Regions from separate parts of the Homo sapiens genome. Here region 2 is linked to region 1. Evidence: promoter capture Hi-C in 16 types of primary human blood cells and fetal thymus (Javierre and others, 2016). All regions are on one chromosome and are shown on one strand. The core of a region is centred on a gene start or on the middle of the fragment in contact, and the rest is flanking DNA. Distances in the headings are between cores, read along the strand shown. Region 1 holds the start of ESRP2 (epithelial splicing regulatory protein 2). Region 2 overlaps PSKH1 (protein serine kinase H1).

Evidence for each region. Contacts are between HindIII fragments. The CHiCAGO score rates a contact against its expected background, and 5 or more counts as called.
Region 2: a fragment that was not itself captured here is called in contact with the fragment with the promoter of ESRP2 in region 1 in 2 of 17 cell types (fetal thymus and megakaryocytes); the score reaches 5.6 in fetal thymus.

What each region holds. Positions count from the first base shown.
Region 1 is chr16:68,234,232-68,237,622 of GRCh38, forward strand. It overlaps ESRP2 (epithelial splicing regulatory protein 2), which reads right to left and starts at 1,896. Exons shown (of 15, transcript NM_024939.3): 1 at 1,617-1,896; 2 at 1,403-1,531. The coding sequence starts at 1,814. RefSeq lists silencers at 1,844-2,073, 3,384-3,391 and enhancers at 2,095-2,683, 2,684-3,271, 3,272-3,391. The HindIII fragment of the contact is 18,011 bases long and covers 1-3,391 here.
Region 2 is chr16:67,925,245-67,928,635 of GRCh38, forward strand. It overlaps PSKH1 (protein serine kinase H1), which reads left to right. Exons shown (of 3, transcript NM_006742.3): 3 at 2,081-3,391. The coding sequence ends at 2,398. Among named protein-coding and RNA genes, the nearest start is that of CTRL, 4.9 kb to the right of the region's middle. RefSeq lists an enhancer at 1,728-2,229. The HindIII fragment of the contact is 3,315 bases long and covers 1-2,908 here.

The sequences.
Region 1 (3,391 bases), core at 646-3,145:
TGGGAATAAGAGGCCACGCCTGTTGAGCCTAGCCCTATGTCCCTTCCCCTCACCCCCCAACCCTGTTCCAGTCCACTGTCACCTCCTCCAGGCCAAATGAGGGCAATCACATATAACCGAAGCCCTCAACACACACACTCCAGGAGTTTGGAGTGGGGCCAGAGCAAACACCTGGAGTGGGACAAGCAGGTGGGAAGGGGCGGGGCAAAGCAGGTTAAACCTGTCTTTGACCGGGTACCACCCTCAGACAGGTGGGGGAGGCCCAGGCCTGCCTGAGGCCCAGAAGGCTCATGGTCAATGGCAGCCCCGCCTCCAGGTCTGACCAACCGAGGGGCAGAGAAACTCCAAGGACAGAGCTCCACACTTGGACATCAGGGGCAGCATGAGCTTTGACCCACATCCTATTGACCGGCTGGCACTGAGCTGTTTGCTCATAGAGGGGGTGGCACTCCTGAGGCTGCCCAGCCCTCCCCCAGCCTCCATCCTTGCTGGAGAAGTATAAACACTAATCAGTGACCCACGAACCCTCCCTGCCAATTCTGTGACACTTTACAACTTGGGGCTGACAGAGCAAGGCAACCCAGCTCTCCTCCAGCAAACTCCCCAAGTGAAGGGCCGGGAGCCCTTCTGGAACAGACAAGGAATCATCATCGTGGTGCCTCCTCATCAGGAACCACAAGAGTTGTTGGAAGATGAAAGAACGTGAGTGTATAAAAAGGACTTACACTAATTACACTCAAGAGTCAGACATAGAATGAGCGCCGTAGTGAAGATAAGGAAAAGAAAACAGCAATGGAAACCACCTCCCACTTCAGCTAGGGCAGGAGGCACCCCAGGCCTTTGCACTCAGCAGGCAGATAGTCCCCCAGGCCAGGCCGGGACAGCGCCCACGCCTGGCCAGCCGGCCGGGACAGGCCTAGACGAGCAGTTTACACCTGGCGGCGTCTACCTCTAGGGCCGACACCGCCCTACGCCTCCGCTCCAGCAGCTCCCAAGCAGGCCGAAGACGCGGGCCGCAAGGACAGGTGACCTATATGGGCCCCTCGACCCCTTTCGCTTCCGGCTGCGGCTCAGGGAGACCTGACCCAGCAGGTCTCCCAAAGGCGTCTCGGCCTCGCTCCCCGGGCGGGAACTGGGGATGGATCCCAAAGCCTGCGTCCCGATCCCTTCGGTAGGAGTAGGTTCCTGCAATGGTTGAAAAGTAAGGAGCCCAGGGGAATGGCTGGCACGCGCGGATGAAAGGGGCACGCACACGCGAGAGTCGCTCAAAGTTTCAAACAAGAGCCCAGTCCTGCCGCCTGGACCGGTTGGTTGCGGCACGCCAGGCCTAGCCTCCGGCCGCCAATCCCGCCCAGAAATGTCCTCACGTCCAGGCCATGCCGCCACCCACCCCGGCGCTCACCTGCTGCAGCACCTTGTCCAGCGGCTCTGCCCGCGCCAGGCTGTCGGCGCTCAGGCCGCTCGCCTCGCGGCACTGCGTACTCAGTGCGGCCGCCTCGGCACGAACCAGCGATTTGTGCAGCGTCCCCACCTGTGAGCGGCGGGGGAAACCGATCAGCCGCGCCCCTCGACCCCGGAAGCTCCCTGGGGACCTCACCGCCTCTTTTCCACCCTACCTGGCGGCTCCGCGGCTCAACCACTTGCCAAACTAGGAGGATTAAGTCGGTCTCGTCCGAGCCCAGGTCCCGTCCCAGCGCACCCGCCGTAGCCCCGAAGAGGACGACCAGTGATCCGGGCCAGGGGCAGGGGTCCGCGGCGGGGTCGGCCGCGGGGTCAGGGCCCGGGGGAGGGGGCGGCGGCGGCGGCGGAGTCATGGCCGCAGAGGAAGGGGGCTCTCGGCCAGACACGCGGACCGACGAGGCGCACGCACGCACCGACCGACCGCAGACGCGGATCAGCTTGGGCGGGACACCGTGTATCGGGGGCGGCACCTGCGGCCCGGCTGGCTCAGTGGGCGCTGCCAAGACCCGCCCGTGGCGCCCCGCGGGGCGGGGCGGCTACCGGCCCACGCCCTCTCCAGGCGAGTTACCTGCCGGCCCCGCCGGCCACGTGACCGGGGCGGCTCCGGGAACCTTGGGGGAGGGCCGCCAGAACTCAACCCAGGACGCAAGAGCTCACGCTCCCGGCCTGGGCGCACGCTTAGGATCCGGATTCCTACTTCCAGGGCTGGTCCTGCCTGATTTTGGGGGCTAACCCATTCTTCCGCTCTCCCCCCACTCTTCCCCAGGGGTCGTCAGGCCTCTGCAAAGGAGCGTGCAAGACAGAGGCCTTCTCCAGTATGGAAGTCACCAGGAGGCAGTCTAGGGGCTGTGGGGGTCAACACGGCAGGTCTGGGGTTGATGGAAGTCAAAGGGTCAAGGGGGCGGTGAGAGTTGCCGGGTATCACCCTGTAGGGGGATCACCAGAAGTCACCTGGGAAAGGGGAGGGCGGCGGGAACATCAGCGTTGTTAGAGCTGTGGGGTGGTCACCAGGGATCACAGGGAAGGGCTTGTCCACGCAGATGCTAGGGCCGAGCGCTAGCCTGGCACTGAGAAGTGCCAGAGCGCGGTCGTTGTGGGTTGGGAGTGGGCAGGCCTCAATGCTGGGGAAAGGAACCCCCCAAATCGCAGAGAGCTGCACCCTAGACGAGGCTGAGAGGGGTAGAACGGGCCTGGAGCCTCACTCCTACCCCACGTGTGGGGGCCTGCCTGCTTTCGTCCCTTTCTGGACGGTGGAGAAGCTGCCTGGAGATTGCGAGCGCTCTGGCCGATGGGGGGCTAGCGTTGAGCGTGTGTGCGCGCATGCGGGCTGCAGATCCTCCCTTTTCCATCCCGCACCTACAACCCAATTGACAGCCCCGCATTTGGGGCTCCCATTCCTCCCTTTGCCCAGTGGAGCTTGGTGAGGCTCCTTTATGGCGCGTTTCCCGGCCGTTCCTTACTTTCCCAAACTCTCCCAGGGAGGTGACTGAGAAACTGAATAAGTGACTGAGAAACTGAATAATCCAGCAGGAAGGAGGGGGCTCCAGCGTGGCGGGAACTGAGTCACGCGGTTGCCTAGCCCGACTCGAGACTGAGACGGGAGCCGCACCACGCGCTTTCGGACAAGGAGGGTGCTGCGGCCCGGCCCCTGGACAATGGAGAGAGCGGGGCACCCGGGCGCATCACCAGAGCTCATGCCCGGGAAAGGGGCGAGGCCCGGGGGGAGAGAGCTCAGCGTAGCTCCACTTGGCAGCTAAAGAAACAGGCGCCCGGGACGGAAATGACTCGCGCCCGGACACGGCGACAGGGAGAGCATGGGAAGTGCTTCCTTCGCCCGGCGGGTTCGAGCGAGTAGCACTTTACTTTCCCTACAGGTGGAGGCGGGCCTTGGTGCGCGGCTGTCCATCTCCGGACCGCCCACCCGGGCACT
Region 2 (3,391 bases), core at 1-2,500, 310 kb before region 1:
GAGTGCAGTGGTGCGATCTTGGCTCACTGCAACCTCCGCCTCTCAGGTTCAAGCAATTCTCCTGCCTCAGCTTCCTGAGTAGCTGGGACTACAGGCACGCCACCACGCCCGACTAATTTTTGTATTTTTAGTAGAGACGGGGTTTCACCATGTTGGCCAGGATGGTCTTGATCTCATGACCTTGTGATCCACCTGCCTCAGCCTCCCAAAGTGCTGGGATTACAGGCATGAGCCACCACGCCTGGCCCTCAATATGAATCTTGAACTACACAAGCCCCCAGGAGACTTACCTGCCTGTCGGGGAGGGCTGTTGCTCTCTGCGCCCACCCACAGCCCTTGGATAGTAAGGCATCTATGGGCCTTCGTTGGCTGCATGCTCCTGGACCCTGACTTTCCTCCTCCTGGGGGCCAGCATCTCCCCAGGAGTCACTGGGTGCTGCTGGCCCACTGATGAGGATGACCCTGTTAGGTGTGTTTGGGAATATGGTTCCCCTGTTGCTCCCACTTCAGCTCAGTAAAACTTGGAATAACCTTCCAAAGAGTGGGTGAAGACAGCAGCTGCAGGTAGCCCCAGGCCTTCCTCAGGACGGTGGAAGCGTGTTCTCCCTGCCTCATCCCTCTGTGGCAGTGGGGAAGGGGGTAGGGAAAGAGTTGGAGGTCAGGCGAGCCAGACTGGGAGTAGCAGTAGTCAGTGAGTGTGTGTGTCTGCTAGATGGCTGTGCACCTGCCCTGAAGGTGGTCTCTCAGATCCTCCTGAACCCCCTGGAGGGCATGTTCAGGGGTTCCTCAAGGTGAAGGGTACCATGGGTGGTGAAGGGTACCATGGGTGGAACAGGCAGACCTCACCTGGCAGGAAGGAAAGTGAGGGGATCGTTAGCATCCCTGTTGAGTCATCTGCAGCAGGCTCAGGAAAGGTCCTAGCTGCCTATCCTTGGGGGAGCCTCAGAGCCCGTGCCAGAAGTGTTCCTAGGAGATGCAGGGACGCAAGGACTCACCTGGCTGAGCCCCAAGGCCTGGAAGCAGCTCCAGGAAAGGGCACCCATCCGGCAGCACCGTGGGTTGTTTACTGTCTGAGCCTGTGCCTACTGAGTGCTTCCTGTATGCGCAGCACCAGGCACGGGCTCATCCAGCTCAGCATGATCTCATGGGAATACTAAACGAACATGAAATTGCAGTCTCACGTTACAGCTGGAATAATTGCTGGAAGCACTGGGGGCTAAGAGGGAGTCTGAGCAAGTGTCCTTTACCCTGAGAACCTGAGGATCCAGTCAGGTGAAGACAGCCGTACAACCTGAGGCCCTGAGACAGACAGCTGCTGGGTTCGGGGCTGAGATGAGGCAGCCCGGGGTGCATGTGGCAGAGTGGGCTTTATGGAGTTCCTCCCAGGGGACAGAATGTACTAAAATGAGGCTGGCGCACAGCACTGCCAGGAGCCCTTTGTGGCTTAGAGAAGTAATGCGGGCCAGAGGGTGCCACTGAGAAGGGTCCTGGTTCCTTCCTGGTCCCGGGATCGCCTGCCCTCAGCCGACTGGGAAATCTAGTTGCCTTGAATTGTTTCCTTTCCTCCCCATGCCGGGAGGCAGAGGCAGGGAGCAGTGGTCTTCTGCCACTGCTTCGGCAGTTGGAGAGAGGTTGGATCTTCTCTGTAAGGACTAGGAAGTTCCCCTTTAAGTAGCCTGATCCTGGTCATCCAGAGATTGGAGCTTCAATCTGACTTAGGATGTGGTGGGAAAGTTTGAATCATTCTCTAACAGTCCCCTGAGTTATGATACTCCTGGGACAAGTTCGGGGGGGTCTTGGCAGAGGCCATCTCCCTGAGCCAGGCTTTGGGTCCAGTGCACCATAGAATTTGCTCCCTGGGAGAGTGCACAGGTCCTTTCCTTCCTTGCCAGACTCCATCACCTGGAGAGCAGCCCTTGTTCAGCCTGAGCCAGCGTTGGGCGGGGAGGCCCCAAGTGCTACATGAGAGGAGGGGCAGCACCTCTCTCTGGAAAGGGGAGGGTTGCTGAGTAGTGGCCTCATCCAGATGGGGTGGGCAGTGTCAGATGCTCTCACTCTAATGCTTGTCCTTGGTCTCTAGCCCTGGCCTAGTGTGTCCAACCTGGCCAAGGACTTCATTGACCGCCTGCTGACAGTGGACCCTGGAGCCCGTATGACTGCACTGCAGGCCCTGAGGCACCCGTGGGTGGTGAGCATGGCTGCCTCTTCATCCATGAAGAACCTGCACCGCTCCATATCCCAGAACCTCCTTAAACGTGCCTCCTCGCGCTGCCAGAGCACCAAATCTGCCCAGTCCACGCGTTCCAGCCGCTCCACACGCTCCAATAAGTCACGCCGTGTGCGGGAACGGGAGCTGCGGGAGCTCAACCTGCGCTACCAGCAGCAATACAATGGCTGAGCCGCCTGGCTGTGCACACATGCAGCACGACCCAGCCTGGCCACACACTGTGGTGCCATCTGGGTCCGATGCCCTCTCTGGAGATAGGCCTATGTGGCCCACAGTAGGTGAAGAATGTCTGGCTCCAGCCCTTTCTCTGTGCCTTCAGCAGCCCCTGTCCTCACCATGGGCCTGGGCCAGGTGTGACAGAGTAGAGGTAGCACAGGGGGCTGTGACTCCCCCTGAACTGGGAGCCTGGCCTGGCACTGATACCCCTCTTGGTGGGCAGCTGCTCTGGTGGAGTTGGGAAGGGATAGGACCTGGCCTTCACTGTCTCCCTTGCCCTTTGACTTTTCCCCAATCAAAGGGAACTGCAGTGCTGGGTGGAGTGTCCTGTGGCCTCAGGACCCTTTGGGACAGTTACTTCTGGGACCCCCTTTCCTCCACAGAGCCCTTCTCCCTGGTTTCACACATTCCCATGCATCCTGATCCTTAAGATTATGCTCCAGTGGGAGACCCTGGTAGGCACAAAGCTTGTGCCTTGACTGGACCCGTAGCCCCTGGCTAGGTCGAAACAGCCCTCCACCTCCCAGCCAAGATCTGTCTTCCTTCATGGTGCCTCCAGGGAGCCTTCCTGGTCCCAGGACCTCTGGTGGAGGGCCATGGCGTGGACCTTCACCCTTCTGGACTGTGTGGCCATGCTGGTCATCGGCTTGCCCAGGCTCCAGCCTCTCCAGATTCTGAGGGGTCTCAGCCCACCGCCCTTGGTGCCTTCTTTGTAGAGCCCACCGCTACCTCCCTCTCCCCGTTGGATGTCCATTCCATTCCCCAGGTGCCTCCTTCCCAACTGGGGGTGGTTAAAGGGAGCCCCACTGCTGCTACCTGGGGAATGGGGCACCTGGGGGCCAAGGCAGAGGGAAGGGGGTCCTCCCGATTAGGGTCGAGTGTCAGCCTGGGTTCTATCCTTTGGTGCAGCCCCATTGCCTTTTCCCTTCAGGCTCTGTTGCTCCCTCC